Regions from separate parts of the Homo sapiens genome. Here all the other regions are linked to region 1. The links are contacts of gene promoters, found by promoter capture Hi-C in blood cells and fetal thymus (Javierre and others, 2016). All regions are on one chromosome and are shown on one strand. Each heading gives the region's core, a stretch centred on a gene start or on the middle of the fragment in contact. The rest is flanking DNA. Distances are from core to core; before and after follow the strand shown.

Region 1 (3,429 bases), core at 655-3,154:
TTAAGCAGAAGGGCTTACAGTCTCAGTCCTTTTATTCACCAGTGTTTTAACTTGAACAAGTTACTTAACTTTCCTAGCCTTAGTTTTCTAATCTGTAAAGTTGATATAAAAATGGTTCTCACTCTCATATAGCTTTTAAGAGGATTAAATTATAACACATATATTTTATTGAATATATATTATATTGCTAGCTGTGTAATCATGGGCTATCTTCTCAAGTTTTTTCTCATATACAAATGGGAAATGTAGTATTAAAAAGAGATCATGTGAACAGGTTCTAAATGGTCAAGTGTTAGTGGTTTTGGAAGCATGTACGTTAATACTTGGAACACCGTATACAACAATCCCATATCTAACACTTAGAACAGCATATGCAATCAATAACAACACACACACACACACACACACACACACACACACACACACACACACACACACACACAAACCCTAGACTTCTTTCTTTACTAAATATTTCTAGTCCAGGTTGCAGCAGGTGGACACAGGCCGGCAGCCATGAACGCAGGTCCACATGGGAGTTGTAGTTCCGAGTCAAGCGGCTGCTCTACAGAACGGCTAGAAGCGAGACTTCGTCTCCCAGGAGACATCTCGCCGTGCAAAATGGCACGCCACGAGGTGGAGTACCTGCCCGACGAGAAACAAGAGGCGGGACTGCAACTCCCAGAAGCCTCCGCGGCCAAGGCCTCAGGCCGCAGGCTGAAGCCAAGGAGGGAGAGTTCAGGTAGATCCGGCTTAACATCAGGTGCGAGTAGGGACCACCCTTGGTAGTCTGGGCCCGGCCCAGGTCAGAACCTTACTAAAACAACCACTGTGAGTATTTTCTATTGGTCCCAGCACATTTCTGAGAGACCAGAATAATAATAGCAGTAAATCTGCAAGTGGTAAACTTTCACAAGCATAACCTCAATTTAGATTTCGGCTTCAGGCAACATCCTTTGGCCACTTGACCTGGGAGCATTGAGCTCCTTGTTTCCCAGATAAGCGCTGTGAGTGGCTGTTCCAAGGTAACACAGCGAGGGCAGAATGTGAGCCTACAGAGAAATCTGCAGATGCATCTCAAGTTCCACTAACCTGCCTCCTTACCCCCCACCACCACCAACTTGGATATACCTTTAAAATTCCCCCCTTTGACGCTAAAAATAAAAACAACAACCATAAAATAAGTGTAAGAAAGTCCGACCAAGTACCGATGAGTTCTCCCACAACAATAAATTCGATGCCTCTTTGCCTGTTTTTGAAGTAGTAATGTAAAATTATCTCCCAAAATGCTGCCTTCTCTATACTCCGGTTTGCTCCTGTCCTGGGCACGTGTTCAGCAACCCCTTAGGGGAATCCAGAGCTGCGTGTTTAACACAGACCTGTTGGGACGGATTTTCGCTACTTGTCTATGAAACTGACGAACCATCCCAAAACGGCGGGTGCCGACTACACCCCCAGAGCCAAGAGCTGTGGCGTCCCCGGACCCGCTGGCGTGGCCCCGTGCCTCAGTTTCCCCAATGTATAAACACGGTGGAGGAGGAACGGGTTAGGGCTAGGGTCGGTGCTTGGGAATTGGGGGGCCCGAGTCCCCACCCTGAGACCCTCGTGGGGCGGAAGAGTACTCGGGACAGAAGCCCACCGCCCCGTGAGCGGCGCCGGCCCCACTGGGCTCCGGGGTGATGACCTGACGCGCGTGGAAACCCAGACCCGCGCCCCAGAAACAGTATTCCACTTGGGCTTGCCTCCCCGCCCCTACCTTCCAGGATGTTGACAGCTGGGAATGAAAGGCAGAGGGAGGGAGCGCGGGGCCGGAGCGCCGCCTGGGAGTGTGCCCACTGGGTGGCCGCCTGAGGGACCCGGGAACAGAGGGCAAAAAGTCCTGTGACCGGACAGAGCAGAGCGGGGACTGCAATTCCCAGAAGACCCCACGGTAGGGGCGGGACCCAAGATGGCCGCTTGTCTGGGGACAGGAGCGGAGGCCAATACGCGCAGAGCATGCGCCTACGCCGGGCCAATTGAAAGCCATAGTGACAGTAACCCTGATTCAGGGGCGGGAAACACTGACCACAGAAGACAAGTTGAGGTGAGAATCCCCTTACAAGGGGGTTTGGGGCATAAATCGCACAATCTTTGGCTTTTTCTAACTAGAAAAAGAAACATGATTCTTTTCACGTGTAACGAAAGGCTGTACCGCACTTTTGCTTTTTTCTTTCCTCCCAAAACGCGTTTAACTATCCCTTCACGACTTCCCACTGGCTGGATTTCTTTTCGTTTCATTTCCCCACTCTGGATCTTTCTGGATTCCTTAAGCCTTCTTTTCTTTATGTGTCTCTCAGAAACACAGACTTGCAGTCCCTGGCTTGATCCATCAAATAATGTGGTCATTTACGACTACGCTCAGCCCTCCCTGGCATCCTAACAAAATTGCACCACATGCGCCCCTTCTCTTTTCCTTTCTGTCTTTTCTGTGCTGTTTTTCTCCTTAGCATTTGTCGTTACGAAGCATTGTATAAAATTTACGTATTTATCTTTTTTACCATCTTACTTTCTCACTAGAATGCAAGATCCCTGCAGATGTGGATTTTTGTTTTGGTCACTGTAGTCTTTCTAGCACCTAGAAAAGTGCCCAGCACATAGTAAATACACCGTATTTTCAATAATTGAACGAAATCTAGAGTGACCTTTCTCCCCTAGTCTCCCTTTCTCTGGTGCAGATCAACCCGTTTCTGACCACCATGGTTCCTTGTGCTTGTTCCCCTGTTTAATCCAAAATCATTATTGATGTATTCTGTGCCAAATGCCATGTGGGTGCTGGAGAAATCATTGATTCAGACCCAATTCCTAACCTCAAAATGCTCTGTCTAGTGACGTATGAAAAGTAAAATTAATTTTACAATAAATGCAATTACAAATTGCAGAACACCTACGTAATTTTCACAAGGTCATGCAGCTCCTAAGCAAGGACTAGATTCCTGGCTGCAGACTCTTGCCATTACATCGGGAAAAACAAAGAGCAGTTTTCTCTCAGACAAACACTAAGATAGGTCCCCATTTTCCTTAGCACCATTTCCTTTCTCTGTCTCTCACTTTTTTATTTGGCCTGATTCATTACATGCAGGCAATTACATCAAGTCTTAGATCTCTCATTATTTCTAATATTTGAATCCCATGGAGAGTAGCAAGGTGTCCTACAAAGTGTCCTGGTGTGAAAATCTGATGTCCTTGGAAGCTTGACTCTCAGAGAATGTCACATTGGATTATAGTTCATCACACAGACACCATGGCCACATAAAATATTATCAAATTGTGAATAACAAAGTGAAATTGAAAAAAAAAATATAGTTAAAACAGCAGGAATGTGAGCAATATATGTACAGACTGATTTTGTGCATAGAGATTAAAACACCTGTTCAGGCTTCCTAGCCTAATCTT
Region 2 (3,429 bases), core at 693-3,192, 2.0 Mb before region 1:
ATGAATCAGATCATTAATAAAGAACCTACCAACCAGCAAAAGCCCAGGACCACATGGATTCATGGCTGATTCTACCAGATGTATAAGGAAAAGTTTGTGCCATTCCTACTGAAATTATTCCCAAAAATTGAGGAGGATAGACTCTTCTCTAACTCATTGTATAAGGCCAGCATTATCCTGATCCCAAAACCTGGCAGAGACATAACAAAAAAGGAAAACGTTAGGCCAACATCCTTAGTAAACATAGATGCAAAAATTCTCAACAAAATACTGGGAAATCAAGTCTAGCAGCACATCAAACAACTAATCCACTTCAATCAAATAGGCTTTATTCCTGGAATGCAAGGCCAGTAGAGATCCCCTTGGACTGTGACTTGCTACCATAAAACATCCAGGTGGCTCTCTGCTTCAGTCTTGAAGCATGGTAGGGGGGGATTGGTGGACGATGGGGATTCTCCCATTCCCAGTCTTGCACAGGTCCCTATGGAGAGCATGAAACCCCTTGTGTGTGGTTGGGCTGGGTATGTGTTTATCAGCAGTATGAAAACAAACTAATTTAGTAAGTTGGTATTGGGAGTGGGGAGTTGCTGGAAAAATACCCAAAAATGTGGAGGCAATTTTGGAACTGGGTAACAGGCAGAGGTTGGAACAATTTGGAGGGCTCAGAAGACAGGAAAATGTGGGAAAGTTTGGAACTCCCTAGAGACTTGTTGAATGGCTTTGCCCAAAATGCTGATAACATTATGGACAATATGGACAATAAAGGGGGCTTTCACTCACTTACTCTTTCCTGTGTTGTAGTGGTTCTCTTGGCCCTGCACTGAGCCCAGACAGGCTGTTGCCCAGCTTTGCTCCTCTGCTTTCTGTGTTCCCCTGATGCCTTGATGGATCCTGACATGGTTTCTCAGATGATTGGCCTGCAGGGTCAGTCGTCATCAGCCCTTTGGTTTCCTCTCCATGAGAGTGGCACACATGAGCTGCTTCTAGTCTGCCATCTTGGCCCTGCAAACACATTTTTTTTTAGCACCTCCTATGTACTAGGCCTTGGAGAGGTAATGGGATCAGGATAGACACAGTTCCAGGCTTTGAGCTCTGATGTAAAGATGGACAGTTAAACAATCAGTTATAATCAGTGTGACACATTGTTACAAGGAACAGAAAGACAGTCATAGGAGCCCAAAGCAAAGGTACTTTTATGCAGTCCATAGGTATAGTACCTTGAACTTAGCAGGTACTCAATAAATATTAATAGATTGAAAATGTTCACAATTTTGCCCTGAGCTTGAGAACTTGATATAGTTGAAAATAGGCAATATTGTAGGCTGGCGTCTTGCAACCTGAAGTCAGGCTACCTCAGATTTCGCAGGGGGTCATGAGATAGAGGGCTTCAACCTGCTCCCCAGCGGAACCCTCAGCACTGCCGGCGGCAGGTTGTCCCAGGTCTGCCTGTTCATGATCTCTCTGCTGCCCTGTTAACAACTTAACCCAATGACCCAAAGCTTCATATGTCTCTAAGGATCTATCCCTGCACTGAGGGGCTCGTCTTACTTGTGTTTTCCAGCTCTCCCTTTTTTCCCCCACCTTTGGCTTCTTTGTTAGTGTTGACTTTGAAGAGATAAGGCTTATTTTTCTAGCAGTAATGTATTTCAGGAAACATTGAAACAAAGGCAAATCATTTTTTTTCTTTCTCCATTTTACTGCAATTGTGATTATTTTGTGAAGGATTGAGAGAGAGGTCACAGGTACCCTCAGCGGGCCCACAGATGGATGTCTGCAGGCCATGATACCCACAAGAGCAGGTCTTCTATTTATGATGCTCATTCCAAATGTATGCAGCTCTCTGAGGCATCCCTCAGACTTGCTCCTTCCCCTTGAAGTCCCAGAACACTTCCCACATAGATCCAAGGACAATGTGCCTTCCAATTCTCCTCAAACCAGTGTGTGTTCTCCAGGAGCTGCTGATGAGGATGGGAAAGAGAATTGTGTTACTCTGATCTTTGCTCTTGACAACCTTCCTTATGTGTGATGAAATATAAATAGTATATGCCATGATTCACTATTAAACCTAGAAGAGAAACGACACTGCGATTCATAAATTAATGTTAAATCTATCTTCTGCGGTGATTGCAGGATTAGGGGGAGCTCACTCGCCTGTAGTTAGCAATGATAAATGATTTCTGAAGAATTTGTTACTTAGTTTTCAGTGGCAATATTAAGAAAAATATTAAAAATACTTTATAGAATCATGAGTGTAGCATTTGGTAAAGTGGCTTTTTTTCCCAATGCCTCTTTTTTTTTTTTTTTTAAATCACGTGGCCTTATAATTACCTGAACTTCTTGACATACTAATTAACTCTGATTTAAAACAGCCATTATTTTTAGAGTTAAGCTTAGTGAACATTGTCTGATATTATTATGTGACCATTAATATGACTAGGGAAAAATGAGATAAGGAAAAGAAGAAGACAGTAATTAAGATGAGTAATTTGGTAACAAAGTTGAACTAAAGCAGGTTGGTGACTCTTCGGCATGTGATAATGTACATTATTGGCATAATTTATCTTTTAAATTAAATTACTCTACTTATCCCAGGCCCCATGTAGGTTAGGTTTTGTTTTTATAGTTATTGGTACATGAAGTGATAGACTTGAGAATAAGTCCTAGGAAGCCATCCCTCTGCAAATTCAGAAACTTTGACCTCTGAATGTTTTATGAAACTAACTAGATCTTGGTGCTATACGAATAGGTACAAGGGGAAAAATTCAGAATGTATCCAATGGGGGAAATTTTTTTTTTGCAGCTTACAATAGGACCCAAATCAAAACGTCTCTTCTCATTCTTGAAAAGGGTGGGCAACAAGCTGCTAGCTGTGGCAAGACCACAATAGCGAAGGTCAATAAAATTACAAAAGTATGGCATAAATGAAGTCAACATTCCTCATCTACTCAATAAAGAGTATATTTCTTGTGATGAAGACACTCCATCCAATATAAAAGAAGAAATTAAATTATCTGTATGCTTTATCTAAGGGGCTCCATCATGTGGATATAAAATCATTTATTTGATAAATGTGTTTATGTATTATTGGTTTCTGTTTTATGTTAGGCATCATTTTAAGTGCTGGAGATTCACCAAAGAATAAGACAGACAAAATTGCTGCACTCAAGGAGCCTGCATTCTAATGGCAGGAATGAAAAAACAAATCAATAAACACATAAATAAATCATAAAATATCAGATCGTGATAAGTGCTATGAATAAAAAGTAGAATGTTGTCATAGAGAGGGACTGGAGGATTGCTTTAGACAGAGATGTCAGAAAAAGCAAGTCTGAAGAGGTGGTGTTTAAGCCAACACCTAAATAATAAGATGAGCAGATTATAGAGGAAAAATATGCCAGGTGGAGCGGACACAGGGCAAAGAACTCCCTG
Region 3 (3,429 bases), core at 240-2,739, 1.9 Mb before region 1:
TCTTGAAAAATTCTCAGCTGGTTCTGTTTGGTTTCACTGACTCTGAGTTTGGATTTCTTTATCTGTAATGTCAAGATAATAGTATTCTGTCCATGATGTCGTTTTGAAGATTAAATGAGATAACACTGATAAACACCTGTAGTCTAAAATTGTTCAGTAAATGCTGGTTGCCAGTTCTCTGGAGCTTGTCCTCTGCCCCTAAGTTCTCTGGGGTGAAACACTTCTGTGCCTTGCCCTGACCTTTCTCCTCTTCCTGTTTCTCTTCTTCCTCTTTCTCCCTCCCCTGCTCCATAAAGATAGTGAAGCCCTGAGCTGGCAGATAAATTGGACTCCCGCTCAGGTGAAGCAGAGAGAATTCTTGATGTATTTTTTTTTCTGTAGCTGAGGAAGCAAGTTGCATTTGTGCTGCTGGTTTCCATTACTGGGCTGGTCGTATTTTATCTTCCCTTAAGTGGCAGCCAGATCCCTCCAGGTCAGGTCAACACAGAATCTGAATACAGGAGAGAGAAGCAGGTACTAAAGCTGGTCAGAAGTATTTATTTCTCTTACAGCTGTACTATCTAAAAGAGGCACTAAAGTTTTCCAACGTGAGGCTGGGAGTTGCAATTCTCCTCTGCAATGCCCTTTGAGCTTCAGGCCTGTTTCCACTCAGCTGATTCTCCATGATGCTCATGACCTTGTTCCTTTGCCCAGGTTTCATCACAGCGCCCATCTTCTCAAAGCCATCATTAACTCCCCATTGCCCATAAAATATATCTCCAAATCCTTACCCTGGTATACAGTGCCTGCTACTCTGACTCATACTTACTCTTTGTTTTATTTTCTACCATCCCTAAGCACTTGCAAGTCTAATACCAAACTATTCACTGTTTCCCACCTACTCCTTATATTTTCCTGCTTCTGTGCCTTTTTGATGTGTCTGGAATATTCCTTTCTCCTCCTTCTCCTCCTCACTCCCGTGGTCAAGTCATACCTGGTCTGCAGAGCCCAGCTCCAATGTAAGCCATGAAGTTTTATTTGTGCACCCTTCAGCTGAGGGTAATCCTACCTTTCTCTGAACTCCTTTGGTTTTCTGTGAACAGAGCACTGATGACTGGTACTAAGAATTCTCCACTCTGCAGTACAGGCTTTTCCAAGCTTAGTGTTCTTCCCTAATAGAATGTAGGCGCCTTGTAGATAAGACTTATGCCTGACCCCTACTGCTTTTCCCCACAGTGTCTAATATACTTTGGCAACTGGATGACTGAATTTGAGGACATTAGTTGAGCTGTTTACATATATACAATTACTGATGACCTAGGAGTTGATACACCAAGGATGTCAAATTCCTGCCATGCATGCCCTCACAGCTCCTCTGGTGCTGGTGGAAAAATTCTCACACATTCACCCCAGTCAGGAAGTGGCTGCTTGGAGAAGTAGGTAGAGAAGGATTCTCAGGTTGTGTCTTGTGCCAGTGGGATGGAGTGCTGTGATTGATTGGTGATGTCTCCTATTACCGATGGATCAGAATTGACAGAAAGGTGGAAACGTTATGTTTCCATATTGGTAGAAAGAAAGTTCTGATAAATGGGATGGTTATACTTACAATGAAAACTGACTCTTCTAAAATTGTTAGGAGACAACATAGAATTGGAGTTAACTTTCATTTGGACCTCTTCTACTTGGGAGCTAGTAGAAAATTACTTAATCTTCATTTTCCCACATGTCAAATGAGTTACTATCACCTATTTTGCCCACCTCAGTTAAAGAAGTATTTTTTCGGTGTTATGATGGCAAAAGGAGATATATATGAATACATCAGTTTATTTTATGTTAATTCTGATGACTTTCCTTTTGGTCTAGAAGCTTCTGTACTGTCAATGTCCAGTGATGTCCATGTTGACCTCCAGTTGAGGCATCTTAGGCCTAGCAATGAGGCCATTTGAGATCAAAGCCTTCCAACTGGGGAATGTGGCACTTAACTCTCTCTTCCCAAGTCAGGCCGGAGATGTGAGGATGGACACAGCTCTCCTGTTGTGTTTTGTACACACTGAATTTAATATCCAACCAATTTGCCCTTTATATCCAATCAAAGAATAAGTGGCTCATGAGAACAGAGTACAGTCCTGCAATTCTGCATTTCTTCCTTGTGTTTATTCTTTGACCTATTTATTAACAAACACAAAACACCTTTCCTCTTAAAAAACACAATATTTCAATCCAAATGAAATTATTTTTTAAAAAATGACATTAGGATATGTACAGTTTTCTCTCCAATGTAGTTTCCAACCCCAATAAGTAAGTTCTACGCTCTGAAGAAGCTACATAGAAATTAAACTAAGTGTATCCAAACAAGTTCATAATTTTTATGCTACTGTCTCCTTTAAGGCCTAAGAAATTACCTATTGACCCTTTTAAATATTAAATCCCTTTTATTATCCCTTTTATTGGCCATCTACTTAATGTTAAGTGAAAGAGCCCTAAAAATAGGTCCAACATTTAAAATCTGTGATAATTGCCCTTGAATGGGCAAGAGAGTAGACCTGTCTGTATCGAGTGCTCATGAAGTCAAATCTTGCGGGGCTTTTCTGATCTGGACTGGGAAACCACGTCAGCCCTTTGGGCCTCCTGCTGAAATGGACTCTTTCAAGTAGGAAACATAAATTAAGTCAAAAGATTGGAGTTCTAGAAAATCTGCCATTCCCCACCCCTCTCCAAAGCCATAGAAGAAAATAAAAGAGCAAGAGGAAAGAGATTTGTGAAATGGCTAATGAAAACTAGTCACATAAGGACATTAAGCCAAGAAAATCTGAATGGGGAAACTAAGCGTCAGATATGAGAATGTTAAGGAGATGGTTACTCTCCCTGGTTGTGTAAAGCTGGGCGGTTTTCACAGCCATGTGGTGTACCTGCTGACTAGTCACTTCATGCTGCTACACAGAGAAACTTGGAAGGCACTAAAGGCTTCTGAAGGGCACTTGTCACCATCACATAATAGGATATTTTGTGGTCTGGAAAAATTATTTGATTGAATGCTTTAGCGATTTCAATAGTGATTTGTTCCTTCTGTCACATTTGTTACATCTGTGTTAGCATCCCAGGGAAAACAATACAGTTGTGATTTGTTACCTGTATTGTTTTCAGAATAAAAACTGGATGACTTCCTGTGTGTGTGTTTATTTTTCCCTCACCAGGTGAAGCTGTTACTCAATAATTAACATTAGGTTTAGACACTGGGTTTAAGAAATAAACAAAGCACTTGATTGTTTTTTTTACACCTCCATTATGGGGAAGAACTTTAGGGGAAGGCAGGGAGAAAAGACTTTTCAAGAAATTGCTATACAACACGATGAAGAAATCTCTCTGTGATTATAAAAACATAAAAATATAGTTGGATGGTGAGACCACCTGATTCTCCTGGGAACTCTGCTGACATTTCTGATAATAGAG
Region 4 (3,429 bases), core at 487-2,986, 1.8 Mb before region 1:
GTGAGGAAACTAAGGCATTTGAGATGGTAAATAACTTTCCTTAGGTCACAGAACTCATAAATGATGAGACCAAAACTTGAACCCAGGTATGACTACAGAGCCCAAGATTTCAACCAAGTTGCTACATTTGGGATGAAAGCAAAGCTCAATTGTTAAAAGCAAAACTCTCTTGATGCTACATGAAAAGTAATGTGCAATAACCCATTTCTGTACTAACAGAGCAGTCCAGTTAGGACTCTACAGGAAAAAGCAAACAAGGTAGGCTAGGGGCCTCCAGTAGGCTTGTATATGACCCAGGACTTGAATTGAGTCCAGATAACAGTGGGGTTGAAAGATGTTGCCATTGTAACATCCGTCTCCCCCGTTAAAGAGATATCTAATTTTACTGAGATATTCACTTCTTCCCTAAGTAGCTCACATGCAAGGCAAAGCTGACTTCACCCCTCCCGGCTTTAGGAAAATTTCTTATTTTTCTAAGCATAAACCCATCCTCCTTGCCAGTGATTGGGCACGTGATCTGGTTTAGGTTAATACGATGCAAGAGATTCTCTCTTCTGATCTGGATATTACTATTACTGGATGTTACCAGATGTTAGTTACTGCCACTAAAACGCAGCATAGCAAAACCCCACAAGAGCATTTAGTTAGCTGGTCTAGGCCTTGCTAGTTGGGCCAGCTCAGTTCTCTTGATCGTCTCTTGGCTCAACAGTGAGTTTAGGGGGTCAGCTCATCTAGCTTAGGTTCTACACTAAGTCTCCCATGCCTTCTCATGACCAGAAGGCTAGAGTGTGCATGTTCTTCTCAAGGTGATGGCAGAGATATAAGAATACCAGTGGAAATACACAGGCATATCTCAAGCCTAGCCTCTGTTACATCTGCTAACATCCCATTGGCCAAAAAACAGTCAAATGGCCAAGCTTAGTATCAAGCCCACCTGCTAAATAGCCAAACTAGATCACGTGGCCAAGCCTGCCATCAGTGGAGTAGGAAAGCATACACTTCCCTGGGAGTGATCGGGAGGAAGTGATATTCTGAGTAATAATCTAATCTACTACAGGGCCATGCATGGATGTGAAGCCGAGAACCATAACAGCCTTCTCCCTTTCAACCTAAAATGAAGCCAACACACAGAGAGAAGAGGGGATTCACAAGAACCCCAGGAAAAGAGATGGAGCTGCTGGATCAAATCAACTCGAAGTTCTACCCAATCTCTGCATTGGCCAATGTTGACATTACGCGATGCTGAAACTCTCATTCAGAGAACACTCCTTGGAACACTTAGGAACAAAGGTCCAGAGATGTGAATAAATGTGTTGCATTGGGGGAAAGAAAAACAATGCAGAGAGCCTAGAGAGATCATTTTTTCCCAAGTGTTTTGTCCTTGGAAACCCAATCAAGCCTTCCCTTTATCATCCACTCACCTTGCAGCAGATCTATTTCTTCTTGATTTTGTGTAATTTGATTCATTCTCAGATGTTTGTTCATCTGATCTTACAGTTGGTATGGTAACGGCCTGACTGAACTGTGGTGTTTATTTTTCACCACAAGCTCTTGTCAAGTCAGGAAGAATCACCTTTGCCTTCTTTCAAGCAGTACAGGGGACTGAGATATTGAGGAGGAGGCATGGCCTTGTACCCCTACTGGGGTCGATGCTGGAAAATCTCCTGTTAAAACTCTACCATTTTCCTTCCTCTGTTCACATTGATTGAGGTGGTTCCTTCCTTTCTGTAGAGCTCTTGTCTCCTTGCCATGGAAGGCAACATTTATTTCTATCCCCCACCCCCTCTCATGTGACATTAATAACAGGACACAAATTGGGTGGGCAATAGGTCAAAGAATTTGTGAAAGTCACATTCAAAAAAATACTGTAAAGAAGCAAAAGGAGATATCTTAGAATCAGAATTAATCATTGAAAATAATACTTATAAGTATTTACTAACTTTGTAACTCAGTTAAGAAGTTCTTCACACCCTAGATGTTCAAACATTGAGGGAGAACATGGCTAATATTTATTAGATACTACCATGAGCTAAGCACTATGTGTGGCCTACCATACACGTGACTCATTCAGTCTCACAATGACCTGGGGAAACAACTATAATCATCTCCACTTTATGGAGAAAAAGAACTTTTCCAAGGTCTTGCAGCTAGCATGTAGAGGGTCTAGGATTTGAATTTGGAACTTGCACCTTCATTTTATTTCTACCACACTATACTCTTTTGAACAGAAGATACATAGCACACTTGTTCTGAGAGTAGACTTGCCTATAAGAATAGTAAAATCTGGCCCTACCATGTACTAATTGTGTAATTTTGACCAAATTACTTAACCTTTCTCTGCCTCAGTTTCCTCATTTGGAAAATGGGAATAATCCAAACTCTGCCCTGTCATTTTAGGAAAGTCCCTTATCCCCCTGGGCCTTACTTTCATGTCTCTGTAATGAGGGACCTGCACTAGTGATTTCTAAGGGAGCTTTTGTGCAAACATTCAGCCATATTCTGGGCTTAGGGTCATGATTTTATATCAGTGCAGGGCAGTGAAAAGAGAAGAAAAGAGAAGCTTCAAGAAATATCTTACAAACATAAGACTTGGTGGCTGATTTCATGGAAAAGGCAAAGAAGGAGCTTGAGTAAAAGATGGCTCTGAGCTTTAGAGCCTGGAGGAAAGATATATTTATTTTTAAATCATCCAAAAGCCACTCTTGCTATTGTGTTAGTTATTGTCTCCATTTGACCAATGAATCAAGGTTTTAAAATATCCATTTGCTGTCCCTTATTCGTTATTCTTCTGTGAACAAGCTTAGTCCATAACGGTCTAAAACCATCAGCAGCTCATTAGTCATCAGAAGATTTGTAACTAAGTGGTAATAGAGATTCCTGTAATCTGGACTTCAGAGCTAAAGGAACGGGTATCCAGTGATGAATCGTCCAGGCAGGGCTCTGAAAGGTGTCCTAATGGATGCAGCAAGTGAAGATCTGTTCCAGATGGACATATCTGCTGCTGCTTTTCTGTTCCTCACGCACAACACACCTTGGCTCAGCCATCCTCCCTTCTTGCAAAGGCTCCTAGACTACCCTCTGGCAGGAAGAATCTAATCCATCCTTCAAAGAAAAGCTCAAGCTGTTCATGGAATAGACACGTATGGAGCCAGGCTCTGTGCTAGGTGCCAGCAATGCAAAGATGAAAGACACCTGTCTCAAAGAGCTCCCACCAGCTGGGCCTGGGGCATCATCCCCAAGCTCACACCTTGTCATTCATTTTGCTTGTCTATTCATGGTGGTTAATTCCTGAGGACAAGGACTTTTTTCATACTCTTCATGATACTTATGTGCTGAGAGTGGGTGTTGAAATGTATTTGTACTTTGTTTTATTTGGGAGAAAGGCCTTATTGTGTAGCAGCTAAGAGAGAAGGCCATAGGGTTATATGG
Region 5 (3,429 bases), core at 299-2,798, 1.8 Mb before region 1:
TGGAGTGCTGGAAGCACATGGGCTAGAATCTTGTCCGTTGTATAAGTTGAACAAATCTTAGCAGGCTTAGTGTCAACTCTCAGAGCACTCCTTTTTCTCATTTGGAAAACGGGAAAATAATACTGCCTTCACACAATGGGATGAATCCAAAGCCCCGTGGCCAGCGCCCAGCATAGTCAGTGGTGGTGGTCTGCATCTCGTCATGTCCTCCAGGCTCTGTACATCTCATCTGCCCTCCCTTCTCACCCTCTCTTCTCTTACCCACTAGCAGAGCCCTTGCAGCTAAGCTGAGCTACACTTTTCCTGCTTTCTGATTAGGTGGCAGCTGTCTGATCTTTAACTGGAACAATCTTGCTTATAGAATCTTTGTAAATTAGAAAACAACCAAGCAGTGCATAGCAGAACATTGAGCCACAGGACCTTGAGCCAAAGATCTCTGTGTCTTCGGTCGAGCAATATGACTGTTCGGTCTCTAAATTTGTGATAGGACCTAAGAGGACTTTTGTGAAGACTAAAGTGAGCTGGTATGAAAGCTTCATGTACAGTGTATTGTTATTTTATCATTACACATGTTATATATCATTACATACAATGATAATGTATTTTATCATTAATAACTACTGGCTGGTTTCTAGATGTTGCAGAGGAAGATGATTAAGTGTCCTCACTGCTGCTTCACTCCCAGGAGCACAGCTGTGATCGTGAAACAACTCTGTCATCAATCGGCATCCTCAGATCTGTGCTGTCCATGGTGGTAGCCACCAGCCATATGTGGCTGTAAAATTTAATTATATTAAAATTCTGCTTCCTCAGTCATACCAGCCACTACATGGCCCATAGGTACAAATGGCTAGTGGGTACTCTATTGCTCAGTACAAATATGGAACACTTCCATTATCACAGAGCATTCTATTGGACAGCTTTGGACCAAAGTATAAGTCCCCTCCCCTCATCTCTTTGAAGAGTTCCAGGAATGCCTGCAGTAAATTTTGGGGATGCTACAGAGCCCACAAAGTATATATTTTAGGTTAGATCATCCCAAATACATCCTTCAAATTTACTATAAATAAAAAGATAAACATCGTTGCTTTGAAAACTGTTGTTAGAATGATGAAGGCAGGGGCCGGGGGCAGTGGCTCATGCCTGTAATCCCAACACTTTGGGAGGCTGAGTCGGGCAGATCACCTGAGGTCAGGAGTTTGAGACCAGCCTGGCCAACATGGCAAAACCCCGTTTCTACTAAAAATACAAAAATTAGCTAGACATGGTGCATGCCTGTAATCCCAGCTACTCAGGAGGCTGAGACATGAGAATTGCTTGAACCGGTGAGGCAGAAGTTGCAGTGAGCTGAGATTACACCACTGCCCTCTAGCCTGGATGACTGAGCGAGGCTCTATCTTAAAAAAACAATTATAGGTGTACGTGTATATATATAATAAAAATAAAAAATAAATTTAGAAAAGAATGACAGAGGCTATTGACCTAAAGGAATGCTCATTACTTCTTACATATATGCCCTTTTTGAGACACCAGCAGGAATTTGGCACAGGGAGATAGTGTTATAGAAAATTATTCAATTTAAAGCAGAGATCATCTGGAAACCAGAACATGACATTTTTGGCTGAAAGGGTGGGGAGTCTTGGGGGTGGAAGGGGGTGGGAATGGAGTCAACCAGCAACCCAGAAGCGCGCTTGGGGAAGACGGTAATTGGCCAGCTCTTACAGAAGTTATCAAAGAGAACATGAGATTTGCTGTAGCCTCTCTGCATAAGTCTAGGACCCCAAGAGGAGTTGGAGAATTACTGTGTGTCACCACGGGGTGTCCTTCAGGAGGAAAGGGCAGGCCTCAAGTCAGATGCCAGATGCTATAACCATCATTATCTGCAGAGGAAAATTGGGTCTGAAATGTCCCCCTGGGGAGCATGCTCCCTCCTCGTCTTCTGGCTAGACGTTCCTCCTGCAGGGAGGCGAGGCTGAGGACTGGGACAAAAATATTGCAGTTCAGTGCTGTTTCCCACTAGAAAGGTCATGGGTGCAAAACAATGAGTCCAATTTAAGTTTGCTGGTCTTTAAGTATATATATTGTTATTATCATTATTATTGTATTGCCATAGATTGTACTGGTAGTATAGATTGCTTAAAAGAAAATGAACTTTGATAATCTTCTGTAATGACAATAATACCTACCTAATACTACTAATAATAATTAATTATAAGGGTTAATTGAGGGATGTATAATAAGCTCAGGCACTGAGTATGGCATGAACTGAACACATATAAAAATGTTAGCTTGAATAATAAACACTATGCATATTTATTAGAAGTAAATATTAATGTCTTTTAGCAATCTTCATAATTAATTTTAATGTTTTGTTAATAAATTACCAATAATTCAATTTTCTAATAAAATATTCATATTAATAATAAAACAATAATGTGATTAAATACGAGTTAAATATTAGTAGTATTTTGTTATTCCATAAATGTCTATGAGGTGTTACTTGCTGTCAGACTGTGTTCTAAGCCCTGGGGTAACAGGTGCATGAGACAACGCCCTGATCTCAGGAAGCTTATGCTTGAGCAAGGGGAAACTGCCTAGTAAAAGAATTACAGATAGTGATACATGCTAATGAGAGTAACTAAGGGGGTGGGGGGGTGCCACAGGCTATTTCCTTAGTGGAAGCAGGGAAGGCTTCTCTGAGGAGGGGACATTTACATGGCCCTCTATGATGAGAAGGAGCCATGAGATGTTGTGAGGTGATTTCAATGCTTTGGACGATAAGCATCAGAAAACTCTAGATTCAAATAATTTAAATGATAATAACATTTACTGTTTCACATTACAAGAAGTCCCAAGGTAGGAAGGTTCTAGGGTTGTCTAACTCGGGTCCCATCCACAGCACGAGGACGCAGTTTCTTCCATCTTTCTGCCTGCCCGTCTGCAGGGCACCCTGCAGCCTGTAGCCGGGCCTCAGCCTGGCTTCCCTCATGGCTGTCAATAGTTGCCAACATCCCATCTGAAACAACATCCAGAGGAAGAAGGGAGAATTTCCAGAAGTGTCCAGCACATTGACTCTCGCATCTCACTGGTCAGAACCGGGCCAAACACCCACCTTTAAAATCACAAGCAAGAGAATAGAATCACCATGATTGGCAAGCTTTTTCTGTAGATTGTTAAATAGGAAATATTTTAGACTTCACAGGTCAAGAGGCAAGATTGAAGGTATTATGTAGGTACTTAAATAATAAGAGAGAAAATAGATTTCCACAAAGTTTTTATTGATGAAATTCAAAATAGAATAGTTGAATATAATTTTTTTAAATGCGGGCCTATTAAGAAGAAGAATGAGTTTCTTTTGGAGGGAATAGCATTTTTTTAATCAGGAAAATAAAATTTTGCCTAATTGGAGGTAAAAGTGTTCTAACATTT
Region 6 (3,429 bases), core at 694-3,193, 1.8 Mb before region 1:
CTTGATCATCTGATCAGTTTCTTCCTTCCCTCAATGCCTGTGAATCACTGGTTCATTTGAAAACATGATAGTTAAAACTCTCGTGGAACCAGAACTTGAGCATTTAATTGAAAGTAATTTTCATACAAGTGAGGCATGGTCTAGAAATTCATTTGTTGTGTGTGTATGTAATTTTTTTTTAAGTCCGAGATAAGGCGAGCAACTAGTTTCAGAATCCTTACTGGGCCAAAGCTTTGTTTCAATCTTGTTATGCTCTTACTATTTCTAACCTCTAGTTGCAAATTATTTTTATGTGACACTTATGTCCATTTGACTTCATTTTTCTAACTAAATAGCTTTTCAGGAAATAGATCTCCTGACTTATTTCAGAGCTCTAAATAAATATCCAGAGTATCTGTGTACTATAAAAACATTATAAAAACTCCTCTATGGTGCTGATCCAAGGCATGAAAATTGCCCTCCTGGTGTTCTATGCCAAGCCTGGTTGACCTTCCCAATTTTTCTGCTACAAATCTGAAAAACAAGCTCAGCTGTCTGGAGAAACATCAGGCATAGGCATACATTAGATAAATGTTTGTGTTTTCCTTTCATCACGGACGACCTCGTAGGAGATGAATGACATAAACACTCTACCTGTTAGTAGACTTGGATTGCTGTCACATTATTTCCTGCATCAGTTCTAATACTCCTGGAAATAGATGTTTTTAAAGGCAATTTGGGCAGCAGTTATTATCTTTTGCTTTGCATCTTGCTTACCCTCCATGCAATGACTGACTAAATATTGTTGATTTTACTCTTTCTCCCGTAATCCTCTCCCCTGCATCCCCACCTCTCTAGCCCCACTGGCACTGCCTACGGCCTCCCTACCTCCCATCTCCCTGCTGTCTATTGTATATGCTGCAGCTACGTTTAGCTTCCCAGAGCAGAGCCTTGATCCTATCGCTCTCCTGCTCAAAACCTGTCCATAGCTCCCTGTTTTCTATGAGGCTTTCCCAAACATTAGTCATACCACCTCCATTATCTTTGCTATTTTCCCTTTCCATCTGTGCTGTGGTTTACTTCATATTTATCTTTAAATAGGCTCACTTAAAAAAAAATCTTAAATGTATTCTAAAGGGAAACTTTATCTCTAAGTAAATGGAAAACCAGTACCATCTATCATAATAGAAACTATAAAAATAAATGCAATGAAAACAAAAGTATTATCTTCCAGCAAGATAGTGTTGCCTGAGGCTCAAAGCCTGAAGCCTGATTTCTCTGTGTTTACAAAGGTGGGTGATGATTCAGTGACTGTTTGTCCCTCCAGATCTATTTTTCTCTCTTCTTCTTGTTGTCTGCCCAGGAGGCTGAGCCCGAGGACAGGTCAGTGAGTTCCCTTACTTTCTGGTTTCCAGCTGGCCTCAGCCTATGGCAGCCCAGCAGAGTCTAGGAAGGAGGGAACGATGGGTCCAGGGCTTTGTTCCCTGCCTCTCTCCCTGCAGGGTCACCACAGCCTGGCAGTATCCCCTGACAAAAGATTGCTGCCCATTTTAACATGGCTTGTTCTTAAACCCTCCCCTTGTCCCTTCAAGCCTGGAAATGGTGACAGCTCTCCCTTTACAAGCCCTGGGTCAGTGTGTTGCCCTTGTGGTTCCCCTGTACCCATACTTAGCTGATTGTCCCTTTATGACACCCACTTGGATTATCCTGCTTTGATAGGTCATACCTCTCCTGTGGAGACCCTGACTAGTATAATTATCATGGATTAGTTGTTATAGATAGACCCACATCAACTGAGACTTTCTCCTTGGCTTCATCAAAGATTGAAGGGGAATTGATAGGTAGGCGGTCTCTGTACCACCTTGCACCATGCATGTACACCAGTGAGTAACACGTGTGTTCCCCAATCTGGAGAATATCTTTCTATGGAATAAACCCCACCATTCTTTGTGTAGGATTCAAGCTGGACTGGAGTGCCACTCAACTTTCCCATCCTATTTCCTTCCACACACTCTTGCTTACCGACAAATAACCATGCTATTTCCTGTTCTTGCCCCGTAATTTCCCAACTTTCGTCTGTATTTAGACCATTTATTCTGCTTAGAAAGAATACCTCCTCCATCTCCTCATTAAATCTGGTCACGGTTCTGATGTTGCCTTCTCCCTGAAGCCAACACTAATATGCTTGGCACTCTTAATATTGTCTTGACCTCCCCCAAACTCTGGGTATCATTCCCTCCATGTCTCCCATGGGGTGCAGGGTGGCAGAGGGTCAGACTTGCCCAGGCCCCTGGCTGAGCCTCACCTTGGAACCTTGCACATAGACCTTTGGCCTCTTTCTTTTTGAGATGGAGTCTTGCTCTGTTGCCAGGAGTGCAATGGCACAATCTTGGGTCACTGCAACTACAGCCTCCTGGGTTTGAGTGATTCCCCTGCCTCAGCCTCCCAAGTAGCTGGGACTACAGGTGCGTGCCACCACACCTGGCTAATTTTCTTGTATTTTTAGTAGAGACGAGGTTTCACCACGGTGGCCAGGATGGTCTCGATCTCCTGACCTTGTGATCCGCCCCCCTTGGCCTCCCAAAGTGCTGGGATTACAGGCATGAGCCACTGTGCCCAGTGACCTTTGGCCTCTTTAATCCATCTCTGACACCCCATGGCCCTTACTCTGTGGAGGTCATCCTGTTCTAGCTTGTTTTATAATCGTGACTTTTCTCTTGGATTATACCAAAGCCCCACGCATTCATTTATTCATTTAACACATAATGATTAAACCTACAAAGTACTGGGTGCATGCTAGGTGCTGAATAGATAGTGATACACGAAATAACCTGATTCCTAGGCCCAGGGAGCTTACTACCTGAAGAAAACTATAGAAACCCTTTGAGACTACACCCTTTTCAAGAGAGGTATGAGCTCGAGAGTCCCCATCAATAATTTACTTGCACACACACATAATTGTATAGCAGCCACTGGTTTACAGTTTGTGATGAAAGTGCCCTAGTTGTTAAGAACATCCTTCCCTGGGAGATGGCCTCCGTGAGGGGCAGTAGAGGAGAATGGTTAAAAGGCAAGTCAGGCTGTACTCACAGCTCTGATCATTCACTTTCAGCAAACACAGCACTTCTGAGCCTTAATTTCCTTAGCTGTAAAATGGGTTTGTTCTCTCCATATACTTTTCTCAGAGGTTTGTGAGGAGTCAAAATACTGCCTACAAAGGTTTGTAATGGTGCCCATCACAAAATAAGTGCTCAGTATGTATCAGTGGTGGTTGTGAGGGGAGTGGCTATCAGCTTATGGAAGTCTAGACATTGGATCTCTAAATACAGGCAAGATTCGTATTTGCTTGGGACCATCTAGGTTCAACTCACACGGAAAATCTTCCAGGTGCCAGGGCTGTGATTGTAAACAAGCTGGAAGGAAAATACACAGTAAACACACCAGAGGAGG
Region 7 (3,429 bases), core at 605-3,104, 1.8 Mb before region 1:
CACCTGAAGATCCCACCTCCCATTCCCACATCTGAGTCAATAGATTGCTATTTTTGCTTTGCTTTGTTTTTTGTTTATGTTTTGCTAAATTAGAGTTAGGTTTCTGTCACGGGCCACTGATGAATGGAGGCCCCACTGAAAATGTGGGAATCCATGAATCTGGAAGGACATGATGGTGCCCATCTAAACATGCCAGACAAGGAAGATGGGTGCTGGCAGGGGCAGGCATGGTGGGGCAATCTGTGTGCCTCTGACTGAACTCTGGGCATTTCTTCCTGGGAACCAACTGATGGAAAGACCATGGGGCATGGAGTGAGAGAAATAAAAGTTCATTCTCAACTCAGTCATTTTCTTGGTGTATGGCCTTGAGTAGTTACTGCACATTTATGGAACACCTACCTCATGCATCATTGGGAGGACTCAATTAAATCATGTAAGGCCCCATGCACTTCTAATATATACAGCATCTAAATGTTTACTTCCTAATTTATTCCATAAAGGATTGAAGCTTTTAATATAAAAACATACTTTACAAAATGATTAAGAAATATAGACACTTAAAGATGATCATGGGCTGGAAATATATAAATTAGAGGAAAAGTTTATGATGGGGGGAGGAATAACACTAACAAGGCAAGATCTCAGGATCTGTGATATTGTTAACTGTTTCAAGCTTGGTTTTGAGCCTTCCGGAAGCCAAAGGGAAAAGGGGGGAAATATTCATATACTTCTCAATGTCAAAATGAAATAAACATACTCTTTTTTTCCAAAGAAGTACAGAAATATATAATAAATTGCAAATGTAGCCTTCAAACAGGAGAGTCACTGGTGGTATAATAGACAACATCTTTCTACAAATACAACAGTAACAATGGGTGTCTGATTTCTTTAATCATCCTTTGATGTAAACCAAATATGTAGTTTTAATGCCCATCTTAGAAAAGCAGAGTCTATGAACCCAAATAGATGGGTAGATGGAATTTGAAAGCTCTAGAATAGGCAGAGAAGCTTCTCAAAGGCTACCCCCGATTATCCGTAATAGCTGAAGAGAATGAAAGTATACTGCTGTTGGGGCTTAGCAAACGATATCCCCAAATGAAGGCTTCGGCAGAAGCCTCAGAGGCAAACGTTTTTCTCTGCCCTCCTGTCTCACAGACTTATTCTCCCCACAAGGCTAGCCATAGAAACTAGACTCTGTCCTCCCCATCATGAGCCACAGAAACCCAAGCCCCTTTTCACTAAAGCCAGCCATAAAAAACTAAAAATACTACTCTAATTTTCCCTCTAATTTTGTACAGCTTTTCTGTACAAAAGCTGGCCATAAATCATCTGCCCCACCTTGTTTGACTGTAGGTCACAAGGCCCCTATTCCAGAGAGGGTCCTGCCCCACACCCAGAAGGAAGGAATGCTGCTCAGAAAGACCAAGAAGAATCTAGACAGACAGCCTTGCTGGGTTTCCCCACTCAGCCTATTAGCATTAGATCATAGCCTTTTCCTCCAATCATATTTCCACACATACTGTCCATAATTTGTTGAACCTAAACATAAAATGGACAATTTTCTCTGTTTCTTTGGGTCTTTATTCTGAAGGACCCTGTGTATACACATTAAATAAATGTGTATGCCTATTCTTGTATTAATCTGCCTTTTGAGTTGATTTTTCAGTGAACCTTCAGAGGGCCAAGTTTCCTTTGGCCCCTACACTGCTTAAACCTCATTGAATCCTGTGTTGTAATTCAAAACAAATGGCAATTTTCCACTACTTTATCTACTGGGTCTTCCCCTAAATCTTCTGGTTAGACTGAGGTTTAAGAAGATATTTCATGTTTGTCCTGAGGGTCTGCACACCGCTGGGATACTGTCACCTATCTCTAGGTGCTTCCCTAGTTGAAGATTCTCTCATATTCTACATATCAGACTCCCCCCAGGTCCCTCCTTGCAGGCTACTTAAGGAAACCTCATATGATCATTAACGAAGACCCACGGGAATGTTAAAAAGTTTGGTGTAAATTCTTTGGGGTTTTAAAATGGCACCTTTATGTCTGTGCCTTTAAAGATCCTGGAGGATTTAATTCCTTGGGGAATTCCAGTGAATTGTTCTGACTTGTACCAACTGTCTCAGACGCAAAGATGTGCAGACTCCTGTGCGGAGGCTCAGCTCTGCCTGTAGACACCATTGTTACACACACAGAAAATCAGCTCCAGGGTTGTCTCTCGCTTCAGAAAAATGGCACACTCCATTTGTTATCAGATGCCTCTGACTTCAGTGATTTGAAAGGGAACTCTTGTGTTGTCCGGAAAATTAACTATCTCAGCTACACTTTCTTCCTGCAGAAGAACACTTCTTATGGAATTACGTGATTATTTTGATACCGCTTGGCTTTGAAAGAAGAGTTAAAGTAGAAAGTCAGCATAACCCATCTAGGCATGGAGAGAGGGGAAGTGGCATAGCTGAAGAACCTACAGAAAAATGAGAAAAAAAAGAGAAAAGATTAATAACTATGATCGGGGCAAAACTATCAACACAGGAGTGGGTTTTGTTTGGTTTGTTGTTTTTTTGTTTTTGTTTTTTGTTTTTTTTTTACCATTCCCCAGCCCTATTAAACAAACCCCAGAAACTTTTATTCTTGGTGGCCCAATTTTCCTTCTCTCAACTAAGTCCAGTTGTTATTTGTTTTTTGCTGATCCATTATGTAGGCCAAGCTTGTCCAACCCGCAGCCCACGTGCTCCAAGTGACCCAAGATGGCTTTGAAGGTGGCCCAACACAAATTCATAAATATTTTAAAAACATTATTGAGGCAGGAGAATAGGGTCTGGAGACAGAGAACTTAAGGCCAATTTGTGCTGACTTCCTAAAAGAGAAACATCAAGGTCTGGGGGCAGGAAACCTAAGGCCTATTAACACCAACTTCCTAAAGCTGAACCTAAAGGAAAAACTCCATCTCCCCGGCAGAATAGCAAAGGATCAAAGGCTACTTTCCTTACAGCCCTCTCACTCTACCATGTCTCAGATGGAAAGGGAGAGTGCCTTGGGTTCGCAGGGCCAAGCAGAGACCATCCCTTTATCTGCATAGGGCACCAATTCACCTCAGCCTTTAATTAGCCACATACCAAATCCTTCATCGGGATAGCTGATAAGAACCTCAAATGGGATAAAGTCCAGAAAACTTTGTAACTGGGCCCTTAAGCCGCTTGCTGGGGCCCATTCCCACCCTGTGGAGTGCTTTCTCACTTTCATAAATTCCCGCTTTTGCTGCTTCGTTCCTGCATATCATTCCTCTCTACTTTGTGTGTGGTGTTCAATACTTTGTTCAAAATGCCAAGGACCTGGACAACTTGTAGTCAAGACACTTCACCAGTAATATGAGATTTTGGGGGACTTTTTTATTTTAGCTCATCAGCTATCGTTAGTGTTAATGTATTTTAT

The links. The method cuts DNA at HindIII sites, captures the fragments that hold promoters and counts their contacts. A CHiCAGO score of 5 or more calls a contact.
Region 2: a fragment that was not itself captured here is called in contact with the fragment with the promoter of FHIT in region 1 in 2 of 17 cell types (monocytes and total CD4 T cells); the score reaches 9.1 in monocytes.
Region 3: a contact is called between a fragment that was not itself captured here and the fragment with the promoter of FHIT in region 1, in 1 of 17 cell types (activated CD4 T cells). The highest score is 5.6, in activated CD4 T cells.
Region 4: a fragment that was not itself captured here is called in contact with the fragment with the promoter of FHIT in region 1 in 5 of 17 cell types (total CD4 T cells, naive CD8 T cells, total CD8 T cells and 2 more); the score reaches 7.9 in total CD4 T cells.
Region 5: a fragment that was not itself captured here is called in contact with the fragment with the promoter of FHIT in region 1 in 5 of 17 cell types (non-activated CD4 T cells, naive CD4 T cells, total CD4 T cells and 2 more); the score reaches 8.9 in non-activated CD4 T cells.
Region 6: a contact is called between a fragment that was not itself captured here and the fragment with the promoter of FHIT in region 1, in 7 of 17 cell types (non-activated CD4 T cells, naive CD8 T cells, total CD4 T cells and 4 more). The highest score is 20.2, in non-activated CD4 T cells.
Region 7: a contact is called between a fragment that was not itself captured here and the fragment with the promoter of FHIT in region 1, in 3 of 17 cell types (activated CD4 T cells, naive CD4 T cells and non-activated CD4 T cells). The highest score is 6.4, in activated CD4 T cells.

Annotation. Positions count from the first base shown.
Region 1 is chr3:61,249,548-61,252,976 of GRCh38, forward strand. FHIT (fragile histidine triad diadenosine triphosphatase) reads right to left here and starts at 1,905. Exons shown (of 10, transcript NM_002012.4): 1 at 1,754-1,905. LOC124909387 (a long non-coding RNA gene) reads left to right here and starts at 2,045. Exons shown (of 2, transcript XR_007095939.1): 1 at 2,045-2,080. RefSeq lists enhancers at 494-773, 1,054-1,183, 1,324-1,453, 1,584-1,643, 1,708-2,002. The HindIII fragment of the contact is 4,935 bases long and covers 1-3,224 here.
Region 2 is chr3:59,297,250-59,300,678 of GRCh38, forward strand. All of the region lies in intron 4 of CFAP20DC-DT (CFAP20DC divergent transcript), which reads left to right. Among named protein-coding and RNA genes, the nearest start is that of CFAP20DC-DT, 210 kb to the left of the region's middle. The HindIII fragment of the contact is 890 bases long and covers 1,498-2,387 here.
Region 3 is chr3:59,368,839-59,372,267 of GRCh38, forward strand. All of the region lies in intron 5 of CFAP20DC-DT (CFAP20DC divergent transcript), which reads left to right. Among named protein-coding and RNA genes, the nearest start is that of CFAP20DC-DT, 280 kb to the left of the region's middle. The HindIII fragment of the contact is 708 bases long and covers 1,136-1,843 here.
Region 4 is chr3:59,409,845-59,413,273 of GRCh38, forward strand. The region is part of intron 5 of CFAP20DC-DT (CFAP20DC divergent transcript); the gene reads left to right. Among named protein-coding and RNA genes, the nearest start is that of CFAP20DC-DT, 320 kb to the left of the region's middle. The HindIII fragment of the contact is 1,643 bases long and covers 916-2,558 here.
Region 5 is chr3:59,428,672-59,432,100 of GRCh38, forward strand. The region is part of intron 5 of CFAP20DC-DT (CFAP20DC divergent transcript); the gene reads left to right. Among named protein-coding and RNA genes, the nearest start is that of CFAP20DC-DT, 340 kb to the left of the region's middle. The HindIII fragment of the contact is 2,035 bases long and covers 532-2,566 here.
Region 6 is chr3:59,445,976-59,449,404 of GRCh38, forward strand. The region is part of intron 5 of CFAP20DC-DT (CFAP20DC divergent transcript); the gene reads left to right. Among named protein-coding and RNA genes, the nearest start is that of CFAP20DC-DT, 360 kb to the left of the region's middle. The HindIII fragment of the contact is 3,429 bases long and covers 230-3,429 here.
Region 7 is chr3:59,462,280-59,465,708 of GRCh38, forward strand. The region is part of intron 5 of CFAP20DC-DT (CFAP20DC divergent transcript); the gene reads left to right. Among named protein-coding and RNA genes, the nearest start is that of CFAP20DC-DT, 380 kb to the left of the region's middle. The HindIII fragment of the contact is 1,696 bases long and covers 1,007-2,702 here.